Regions from separate parts of the Homo sapiens genome. Here regions 1 and 2 are each linked to region 3. The links are contacts of gene promoters, found by promoter capture Hi-C in blood cells and fetal thymus (Javierre and others, 2016). All regions are on one chromosome and are shown on one strand. Each heading gives the region's core, a stretch centred on a gene start or on the middle of the fragment in contact. The rest is flanking DNA. Distances are from core to core; before and after follow the strand shown.

What was found. Contacts are between HindIII fragments. The CHiCAGO score rates a contact against its expected background, and 5 or more counts as called.
Region 1: the fragment with the promoter of MGST3 here is called in contact with a fragment that was not itself captured in region 3 in 1 of 17 cell types (non-activated CD4 T cells); the score reaches 6.8 in non-activated CD4 T cells.
Region 2: a contact is called between the fragment with the promoter of TMCO1 here and a fragment that was not itself captured in region 3, in 1 of 17 cell types (fetal thymus). The highest score is 5.1, in fetal thymus.

The regions. Positions count from the first base shown.
Region 1 is chr1:165,629,412-165,632,907 of GRCh38, forward strand. MGST3 (microsomal glutathione S-transferase 3) reads left to right here and starts at 1,823. Exons shown (of 6, transcript NM_004528.4): 1 at 1,823-1,882. RefSeq lists enhancers at 744-1,274, 2,328-2,497 and a silencer at 1,658-1,897. The HindIII fragment of the contact is 6,286 bases long and covers 1-3,160 here.
Region 2 is chr1:165,767,095-165,770,971 of GRCh38, forward strand. It overlaps TMCO1 (transmembrane and coiled-coil domains 1), which reads right to left and starts at 1,774. Exons shown (of 7, transcript NM_019026.6): 1 at 1,588-1,774; 2 at 1,098-1,175. The coding sequence starts at 1,657. TMCO1-AS1 (TMCO1 antisense RNA 1) reads left to right here and starts at 1,835. Exons shown (of 3, transcript NR_125374.1): 1 at 1,835-2,281. RefSeq lists enhancers at 1,385-2,061, 2,062-2,737. The HindIII fragment of the contact is 3,297 bases long and covers 1-2,244 here.
Region 3 is chr1:163,323,403-163,327,054 of GRCh38, forward strand. It overlaps NUF2 (NUF2 component of NDC80 kinetochore complex), which reads left to right. Exons shown (of 14, transcript NM_145697.3): 2 at 2,630-2,772. The coding sequence starts at 2,650. Among named protein-coding and RNA genes, the nearest start is that of NUF2, 3.3 kb to the left of the region's middle. The HindIII fragment of the contact is 2,653 bases long and covers 361-3,013 here.

The DNA of each region.
Region 1 (3,496 bases), core at 573-3,072, 2.3 Mb after region 3:
GAAATGAAAAGCGTCCTACATGAAAAAAATACACTGAGTGCATGACAGGAGTTTTCTAGTCCACAACATACTTAGGTTCCCAGTTGCAAATCAATAAAGTGACACTCTGGTTTATGTATCAAAAGAAAAGAAAAAGAAATGAAAAGCAAAAAAAGGGTTTACATTTTATGAAGTGAACAGAGCAGACCACAAAACAGAATATACAGTATGATTCTATTGTGTGTGTATGTAATTTTTTTGTGGGCTTTTCTGTATCTCCGAAAATTCTAATATAAAGGAATACTGCTTTTGTAATAAGATTTTTAAAAGAAGGTCCTCAGTGGTTAAGTACTTGTCTGTGGTCAGAGATAACTGGCAAAGAAGAGGCCAAATTTTTTTTGAGACTGCAGTCTCCGGTGTAAAATGAGGGTGCAAGGTGCATCCCCGCTCCTGATTTTTGAATCATCCCTTCCACCACCTTGGAATGACTTCTTACGTAGAACAGCCAGCAAGTGGAGAAACTTGCCTCAATAATGCAAAACTGTCTCCCTAACTTACTTCCTTTCAATGTTCAAGCAAAACAAAGCCCTCTCTACATCCAACATGACAGAAACCCAACATGACAGAAAGTATGAGAATGGTTGGAAATTGCTGAAACAGCAACAGTAAAGATTTAATGAGCTCTCAAAGTACCTCTAGATGTGCAAATATGACAACCCAATAAAAAGAAACACACACATAACCTAGAGCCTTCAAAAATCTAGATTTCTGCCTTTCCACACCTTAACTTGGAATCATTCAGGTGGGTTCCTAAGCATTCTCTCGGAGGTGAGGAATCCTCCAAAGAGGAGACTCTAGGAGGGGCCCAGGTGTGGCAATCTTCAAAAGGATGAGGGATGTCCAGAGGAGAGGTGGCGGGAGGGTGCACTTAAAACACGCGAAAATTGGAAACGTGCCTTCTGCAGTCAGTTCCTTCGGATTTTCCGGCATTTAGAAGCCAGTTCTACTCCTTCAGCCCGACCGTATCTGCAGGTCTCACCCAAGACCAAGACCCCCGCCCCCACCCCTCCTCCACCCGGCCTCGAGCCCCGCCCCGGACGCTGGACCCGAGCGTAACGGGAGCAGGTGTTCACATCAAAGGTCTGGGTCGCGAAGGCAGAGACTCCATGTGCCGCAAAAAAAACTCCACGGACAATTGGGAGACTCCTTTCAAAAAAACAAAACTCCGGAGCCACGCGACTCCGCGCTCAGGGGGCGTGGGTACGGCCCACCACGAGGGCAGGGCTCGGCGCCAGCTCTCGGCAAAACTAACAATATTTGTTAGGCCCTAAACAAAAAGGCCCTAACAGCGATAAATCCATTCACTTCGGGAGTGTAGCAACCTGGGACACCAAGCGCCGCCCACGCCCCAGCTACGCGCCTCAGGGACACATCGATTGAGGCGCGGCTACTTTCGCGCACGCGCCTTGCATGCCCGTGCTTCGCCCTTACAGCAGAGCGCCTAAAACCGCTACGGTGGCTCTGCTGGGGACAAATTATTCACGTCCCACTGTTCTGCAAACCCAATCCGGGAGGTATGACCTGGCTGGGACAGTTTAGGAAGATGGCCACGAAGGCACCTGGGGGAGTAGATATATGTTTTTGAGAATGAGAGGAGTAAATCGCTGGACGACCATGAGCAGGAAGAAAATTAGGCCTCCACCTCCCAACCAGTGGCCCTGAGTTGGCAACTTAGACAGCGCGCGCCAGCGCCAGGAGCCCCGCCTTGGGGGCGTGGCCGCGCGCTGGTCGGCTGGGGCGGGGCCTGCTTCTGGCCTCATCTAGCCCCGCCCCAGGCGAGGGCGCCGCACCCACACCGCGCTGCGCAGTTTTGTTCTGCTCCAGCTGTTCGAAGGTGATCCAGGTGAGTGCTAGCACCTGCGGGCAGCCACGAGCACCGGGCCGCCGGGGGCACTTCAGCCTTTGCGCAGGGCACTCCCATATTTCAGCCTATGCGAGCTGAATAGAGACCCGCTGTCTCTAACCTCCCCCCACCCTTATCAGTAAATTAGCGATCTGAATTTCCACCCTCTCTGCTCTCCCCTTGCCTTGCATCTTTTCCCTGGTGGAGTGGGTTGGGAGCGTCTAAGCGAGGCCCGACCTATTTATGTGTAACTCAGGAAAATTCTCAAGGTCAACCCTTCCTCCATTCCTTCCTTTCCTCTCCTGCTGTCCCCGGGCTCTGCAGTCTGGGGGCACCTTTCTGCCTTCCGGAGACCACCCGACCTTGCCCTCTGCTGTTCCGGCGCAGAGGATGGCGAGCCGGACACTGCCGGGGGAGTGGTTGTGCAGGCCTGATCAGTAACACTGGTTTCAGAAGTGGCCTGTGAGCAATGCACCCGCTGCGGTGGGGATGTGTTGCTAGGGACGGTCGGGAGAGCCTCTGAAGGAATTGTGTTTGTTTTCCTCCTGCCTCTTAGAATCGTTTGTCCATTTGTACTGGGAAGGTGGTCATTTCCTACCGCTGACTTAGAGCAAGAGACGCCTCTAGGCGGGTGGGGGACTCTTCAGGTTCTTCCTTGGATTTCAGAAAATGCCCCTTCTTTATGTGGGGTGGCAGCACGGAGCCGTAGGGCTACAGTAGTGGGGCAGTTGCAGGGCGGTGGAAGGCGCTGGAGACTCCTTAGTGAGTCATTCCCCGAAGTTGTGGCTTCTGCTGATACTTTCCTTGAGAGTCACGAGTTTACAAGCTACATAATAGCGTCGGGGGCAAGTAAGTGTGGAAGACGAGGTAAAGGAAAAGCAGATACTAGGATGGGTAGAAGGAGAGGCAGGGGTTAGAACTTTAATTCCTTCCCTGGGGACAGGAGATGCCCTGGAGGGGAAGGCGCTTCCGGCTCTGCAGGTATGTGCTGTTGGGCCTAGGTGTGGTCCTGCGGAATTGCTGCAGATTTTAGATTGCTGGTGGGTAGGAGCTGCAGCGCTTCTCTTGGGAAATCTGTAGATCACCTGGAGCCAGCAGTTCTGGGAGGCACCCCAGGTTATTGGTCAGAGTTACAGGCTATATTTTATTTCAGTGAATTCAGAGAGCACATTGAGTCAGATCAAGAATGTTTATTCTCATAGGAGATGAATTTAAGGAGTTAAAACTAACATATAAAATAGAAACAAATACTTTCATCCCTGGGAAGACTTTCCGTTAAGCTTCCCTCCTGACACAATGTTACGGAAATAGAAAACTTTGTCAAGTGATTTTTTTTAACCAATGTTACTATATATAAATCTGCAGGGAGACTGTCGCCAACTATAGAAACTGCGCTACAGGGGCCTCCTTAGATTAAGGAACAAAACTGGAGAAGGGCAGCCTTCCGCTTTATTTAGATTTCTTCCTGTTGGCTTAGAGTTCTGAAAAGACACAATCCTGGAAGAGATCCTCCTCGCCTGGAGATTAGCACCGAGAAGGAACATACAGGAAAGAAGGGCTTTACCCACTATTCAGAGAAATGCTAAAAAGCCCCTGGAGCAGTCTGGAATGAGG
Region 2 (3,877 bases), core at 524-3,023, 2.4 Mb after region 3:
GAGGCTCAATTTTCTTTCCTATGACATGGAGGTAATATTTATACGAGTAACCACAAATGGTTGCTGTGTAGATCAAATATGGTAATTTAAGAAAAAAAACTTCAAACCCCTATGAAGATATAAGAAAAAGTCACAGAATACAGAAAGTTGTAGGAATTCTAAGAAACAAAAGTTATATTTAATCCTTATAAGGAAAAAAAGAAGAGAGAAAACTAAATCAGGCCTATAAGGAACCATTCACCCTGTACCTTTAGCTGAGTCCTGTGGAATTCCTGCTTTATTTCAAAGGTAACAAACCCTTCTTGTTTTTAATCTTTTCCTTAAACACCTCTTCAACTTTCTAACCCAACTGAAACTCGGCTTATCTCTGAAGACACCACTTACCTTGACACCAGTCATAATGACATATCATCCTCCAAACATGCCTTAAATGTTAAGATTTCCATATTTTTGCTCATATGTTATTTCTTTACCTGGAATTTCCTTTCCCCATTTCATTCTCTATCCAAATTCTAACTATCCACAAGGAACTGCAAGGCCATCAGCATCATGAAGGCTACCATGGTTCCTCACAACTGAATGAAGCCTCTTCTTCTTTTTTTTTTAAAGACAAGTCTCACTATTGCCCAGGAGGCAGTGTAGTGACACCATCGTGGCCCACTGTAGCCTCAATCTCCTGGGCTCAAGGGATCCTCATGCCTCAGTCTCCCAAATAGCTGGGACTATAGGTGTGTACCACCATACCCAGCTAATTTTTTCTGTAGGGACGAGGTCTCCCTATGTTGCCCAGGCTGGTGTCAAACCCCTAAGTTCAGTCCTGCCTCAGCCTTCCAAAGTGCTGGGATTAACAGGAGTAAGCCACTGCGCCAGATTGAACCTCTTCTTTAGAACCACCACAGCACATAACATGTATCTGCTACGCCCCTCACTTCCCTCTAGTTGGTATTACACATTTTGCATAAAAGTCTTCTATTTCTAAATAGGCTTCAAGTCAGGTTCATCTTTGTATCAGCTGGTGCTCTTAAAATATTTATTGTGAACATGGACTTAATGAGCTTGACGTGTTGAAATTATTTCTAATGTGTTGCCATACTCACATTTTTTACTCTGTTTTTCCACTTCTGCCTTCAGTCTCTTGTACTTGTCTGTCCTGTAAACCAGGACCCAGGTTATGCCTAAAACATTAAAAGCAACATGTTAATAGAGAAATGACTGGAATGATCACAACAAACAAAGTGGTTACTGTTGGAGAAGGAGGAATTCCAACTTTTCGCTTTGTATTTACCCATAGTTAACTTTTTTCAAAGGCTAATACAACTGACTCTTCAGCCAAAACAACAGTAACATGATGTGAAGGTGTCTCCACAAATACCCAAGTGAAATCTACCTGAGACCAAAGAAAACTCGGCAATCGACTCCATACTCCCCTCCTGCTCCTGTTCACGAGTTGCCCAGAGATTCCCTGAAGTGGAGTAGATGAGCCTCTCAAGCAAGTAAGGCTCGCGATCTTTCCCCTGGTGGCACAGGGGACCCCGGGGCCCTTCCTCCCGGGGACTGATCAAACGTCTGAGAAATACCCGCTCTCACCCTCTGCGAGCAGAGCCGTGCACACAGAGATAAAAACGATGAGGAGAGTGTCCGCGAACATAGTGCTCATCTCGCACCTTCGTCTCTGCACTCTCACCCGCCAGGGGGAAAGCGCTCTACAGCCAGGAAAAGTGAAGCGAAAACGGCTTCCGTAGACTCCGCCACCACCGAGTAACAGACCAACTCTGACAGCCCGAAGATCGCACTTCCGCTTCCGGGGCATAGCACCGGAAAGGCTCGTATCGGAGAACGGTGTGGCCACGAGAGTCTAGAGGAAACCAACCCGCAACTCACTGGAGCTGAAGGGCTGGTAGTCAGGCCGAATCTCGCGAGAATTGGAACTATTTCAGAGCCAGAGGAGGATAGTGGCGGCGGCGAACTTTGCCCGGTAGATTTTACTGACTGGGGTGCTGGCGCGCGCCTTTTTCTCGGCCAGAATCCAGTTATTGGGATAGTCTTGACTTCTACCTCAGCCCAACTTCTGTGGTCGTAATATTAGTTTAGCTTGGGTTTGCCGTGAAGTAAGAAGACTGACTTCCGCAAAGGTACTGAACGACTGGGTGTAGGTGCCAGGGCATGGACGTGAAGCTGGAACCGCGAAATGAGTTAGTTGTGGGCCGCTGGCCTCAAGGAGCGAACGTCAGCGCGAAGAGGAGAAGCTTGTGCATACGCTCTGATAAGGGTTTTAATAGAGGTATTACCACAGTGCTGCGTGACACGGTTGAGAGAGTGGTCAGAAGAAGCTAATGAAAGGAATTGAAGCAGTGCCTTAGGGGAGTAGGAGTACTTTTGGAGATAGCAAAGGACTTTCTAGGCAAAGTGGAAGTCAAAGCACGGATGCCTGAAAATTCATAGTGTGATAGTGCAGTGAGTAATGTATCTAGAGAAGGGGTCTTAAACCCAGATGCCTAGACTGGCGAGAGAAAATAAATTATCTTATGCAAGCTGAGCCTAAACAAATGGTGGAAGTTACTACGATGGATAAGTGAGCATTAAGTTCATCTGAAAGGAGAATTTGATACCCAAATCCAACCCATTTCTCTAGGAGAATGAGCACCCAGTTTCTGAGATGTCTTCGTTTCTCAGGAAAATCCAGAAATCCTGGGTTTTATGTGAAACTTAATTTATAAGTGTTGCTAACTAATTAAAATTCAAAAATGTCTCAGCAGCGTGGTTTCAGCCATTGTAGACGGTTTCAGCTTTTTCACACTGGGGTGTGTGTGTGTATGGGTGAAAACCTGGAAGCTGGCTGAGCTGTATCCTCTTGTACTTCCTCCTATCATTGGTGTTTTTTTGTTTGTTTGAGATGGAGTTTCACTCTTGTTGCCCAGGTGGAGTGCAATGGCACAATCTCGGCTCACTGCAACCTCTGCCTCCGGGTTCAAGCCATTCTCCTGCCTCAGCCTCCCAAGTAGCTGGGACTACAGGTGCCCGTCCCCACGCCCAGCTAATTTTTTGTATTTTTAGTAGAGACGGGGTTTTGCCATGTTGGCCAGGCTGGTCTTGAACTCCTGACCTCAGATCCACCCACTTCGGCCTCCCAAAGTGCTGGGAATACAGGCGTGAGCCACCGTGGCCGGCCCTCATTGGTTCTTTTAAACTGTACTGCACTTAAATATATAATTCTCCTAAACACTACTTTTGACTTTTTTTTAGCTTTATGTGCATTTCTTGTCTCCCAGACTTAGCAACAGAGACCCTGTCTCCTTTTTAAGAAACATTATTGAGCTTCTACTATATGTCAAGAACTGTGGTAGGCACTGTAGGGTCAAAAGGATGGTTAAGAGAATATTCCTGACTTCTAAGGGCCCAGGGAGATTATATAATATAATAAGATTATAGGTATTATAGAGGTATTCTTAAAATGTTGAGGGGGTACAGATGAAAACAAGATGTATTCTTCCTGGGGAGTTGGAAAGGTTTCAGAAAGATCATATTTGAGCTAGACCTTTATTTGAGCAGTTCAGACAAGGATAGGTTTTTATTCACCTTTGTATCACCCAAGGTAAGTGCTGAGATAACAATAAGAGCATGATCTTGGAAATCAGACCTGATTTTAAATTCTTGCTCTGCCACTTACTTGACAGCAGTCCTAGAACCTATTGTTTAGCATCTTTGAGCCTTCAAAATGGTGGTAACATCAGCTATGAAGACTGGATGAGGAAAAGTATATTATAAAGCATTTCAAGCAGTGCTTGGCACACACAATTCATCAAATTCAACATGCTATTCATTGTAAGACGCATCATTATTTTATCTACTACTAAAGAGGAAAAAATAACTAATTAAA
Region 3 (3,652 bases), core at 437-2,936:
ATCAGAATCTGGATTCCAAAAGATCCCAGCTCTGTGGCCTGGCAAGGTGGCTTATGCTTGTATCCCAGCACTTTGGGAGGTTGAGGTGGGAGGATCACTTGAGCCCAGAAGTTCAAGACCAGACTGGGCAACATAGTGAGACCCTATCTCCACACACACACAAATTAACAGGGCGTGGTAGTGTGTGCCTGCTGTCGTCCTGGCTACTTGAGAGGCTGAGGCAGGAGGATAGCTTGAGCCTGGGAGGTCGAGGCTGCAGTGAGCTGTGATTGTGCCACACTGCACTCCAGCCTGGATGACAAACTGAGACCCTGCCTCAAAGAAAAAAAAATAGACAAAACGTCCTAGCTCTAAAAGGAAAGCTTGCAATCATGAAATTTAATAGTAGAAAGTACAAATCCTTGCTTAAGTTTCAAATAATCAATTTATACAACAAGAACACAAGTGACACAGCAGATGGTGACCAAAAAAAAAGAGAGGGAAAGGGGGAAAAAAAGAACAGGGAGAAGCCGCCTTGATGCAAGACGGTCATGATGAAGTTCTTGGAGTTTCAGTTGATCAGTAAGTGCTACAGCAGAGGCCATTATACTGTGCCCTAGACCAACCATATCTGGAGTGTCGTGTTCAGTTTGGGCACTACATTTTAAGAAGACATTTACAAAATAGTGTGTGTTAGAGGAAGATGAATAAGATGGTAGTTTCTAAAACAATGTCATATAAGGAGTATTTTGAAGTTACATATAGCCATACATAAAGAAATTATACTTACTTTAAAGAAGGGAGGGCTTAGCAGAGGTGTAATAGCTTTCTTCATGTTTTTGAAAATGGTGTCATGTAAACAGAGATTAATATATTCTATTTAGTTGCAGTGACTACATAGGACCAGGAGGTAAAATTACCACAAAACATATTTCCACACACTATGAGGAAGAGTTATTTAATTTGGAACCATAATAAAGTGGGAAAAAGTTGCATTGAGAGTGAATTCTGTGATGTTGTCACATGTTCAAGTTGAATTGGGAAGTTATTTGTTAGTGGTTGTTTAGAATTGCTTCCATTTATTAGAGGTTAGGCAAGTTGCCAAAGCTCCCCTTTTTAACCCTAAAATTCTAAAAAAATTAGGAGCCTAAAGAAATAGATTGTCAGAATTGTGGCCCATTTCAATTTGTTTGCAAAATTGAATATATTCACATTGGGTCTCCGAGATCATTTTGCTTCACTGGAGAGTAGGGGATCTGAAGGTAACACAACAGGTATTTAAGGGAGTGGCTGAGAGCAATAACAGTGGCTGCTATTGCTGCTCATTTCTCTCTTGCTGTTACTACTGCTATTTTTGTGGTTACAGGGAGAGATATGAAGAAAATGAAAAGATCCTTACTTACCGGAATCTCACAATGTGGTGTCAGAGTTCTTTAAACATAATTCCAGTACATTGTAACAAGTATTATAACAGGGGTAAATGCAAGGCTCTAGGACAAGGTTTCTTTTCTTTTCTTTCTTTTTTTTTTTTTTTTTTGACACAGGGTCTCTGTCACCCAGGCTGGAGTGCAGTGGTGCGATCTCAGTTCATTGCAACTTCTGCTTCCCAGGCTCAAGTGATCCTCCCACCTCAGCCTCCCAAGTGGCTGGGACTACAGGCATAGGCCACCATGCCTGGCTAATTTTTATGTGTTTTGTAGAGATAGGGTTTCATCATGTTGCCCAGGCTGGTCTTAAACTCCTGGGCTCAAGCGATCCACATGCTTTGGCCTCCCAAAGTGCTGAGATTACAGGTACAGGGTTTTTTAACATCAGCATTTATTGACCTTTTGAACTGGATAATTCTTTGCTGTTGGGGGCCACCCTATACATCGTAAGATGTTTGGCAGCATCCCTGGTCTTTATCCACTAGATTCTAGTTGCACCCACACTCCTGTGCTGACAATCAAAAATGTCTTCAGCCATTGCCAGATGTGCCCTTGGTGATAAAGTTAGAGAACTACTACGCTAGGGGGACACAGGTAGGAATAACTCACTACGTGAAGACATTAGGAGAAATGGTTTTTTGTTTTCTTAAAATTCTCACTCTGGTGATAGGATTTCCTATCAATTATATCATCTATTCTTACTCAGTTTTTTTTCTCTCTTCTATTTGCATCTACAACCTTATTAGCCATCTCACTATATATGTAATGAATAGGATGTCAAAACTGAATACAATTTTTTATGCCCTATATTACTGTTGTTTATATATAGCTTCTGCTGATGATGTTGCCTATATGCCTTGCTTTGAGAATTAATTATTAGGATTGGTCTTGTTAAGCTCCGTGGCCCTCAAATGTAAAAGAGAAGCACGTGGTTTCTCATCTATCTATTCAACCAAAGTCCTCCTTCCCAAATGTGTTGTTCTCTTCCTACAAAAGAGAACGACACTAGAAAATTAGCAGAAAATAACTGTGTCACCTTAGAATAAAAGTAATTTTAGGATACATATATAAATACTTGTATTTATCTTACTAAGATATTTGATGATAGTTAACACTACTATGAATAGTTCAACTTTGGCTCATTTTGTCATTATGTTTATTAGTTTCCAGATAATGAGAACTACTGATCATGTGGTATTTCTCATTGTTTTTTCTTCCTTCAGATTAACAGGAAACTTCCAAGATGGAAACTTTGTCTTTCCCCAGATATAATGTAGCTGAGATTGTGATTCATATTCGCAATAAGATCTTAACAGGAGCTGATGGTAAAAACCTCACCAAGAATGATCTTTATCCAAATCCAAAGGTAAAAGGTGGTTACGTTTGCATGTGGATAATGGTATTTAGGGAAAAAGTAAGCTACTAGGTCTATTGTGTGGCAAGAAAGGGATATGGCCTCCTATTTGATGGAGACCAGTCATTTTCATTGAGAGAGAATCTCTCACCTAGCATAATTTAAAAATAACACTAAGTTTATATGTGTGGTGACTTCTACATTCCCATTAGGATTCAATTCTTTAATATAGTCGTTTTCTTAAAAAAAAAAAAGCTTCTAAACCATATTAAAGTATATTAAATTTTTTATTATTATTATTGGAATGGTGGTCTGAGAGTATCATTTATTGATAGGGCTTCAAGGAACTTATTCCAAGTGGTTTTCAACCACAAAAAATGCTTAGAAATAATCCTCTTTGGAAGCCTACAGATTAATTTTCATGCATTATGCCCCAGGGGGAATTGACTTGTTTTGACAGGTATTGTTTTTTATATCTTTAGTTATTAAATACAAAATGAACTATTTATGTGTCACAGAAAATCCCAAAGTCTCCTTCCAGTTTCTTGTGTTGGACTTGAAGTGATAACGTAGTAAAACCTGGTGTAATGGTGTAGAACTCAAACTTTCTGATGTCACTACCCTCTTTGATTCTCGAAAATGGAAGAAATACCTTAGAATAACTGATGTCTTCAAACTGAGTAAATTCAGCTTTCTTAAAAGATTACCACGTTTTCCCTATATTTCCCGTCTTAATGCTCACCCAATAAACTTGTATTAATATATGGATCAGAACAGATTCACAGGTCAGCATTTAGGAACTGCTGTTTTAGAAGATCCGGTTTTTAAAATTCTATATAACCCTATTACATTTATACCTCCTGATCAAGTGTTCCCTTAAACTTCAAATCTA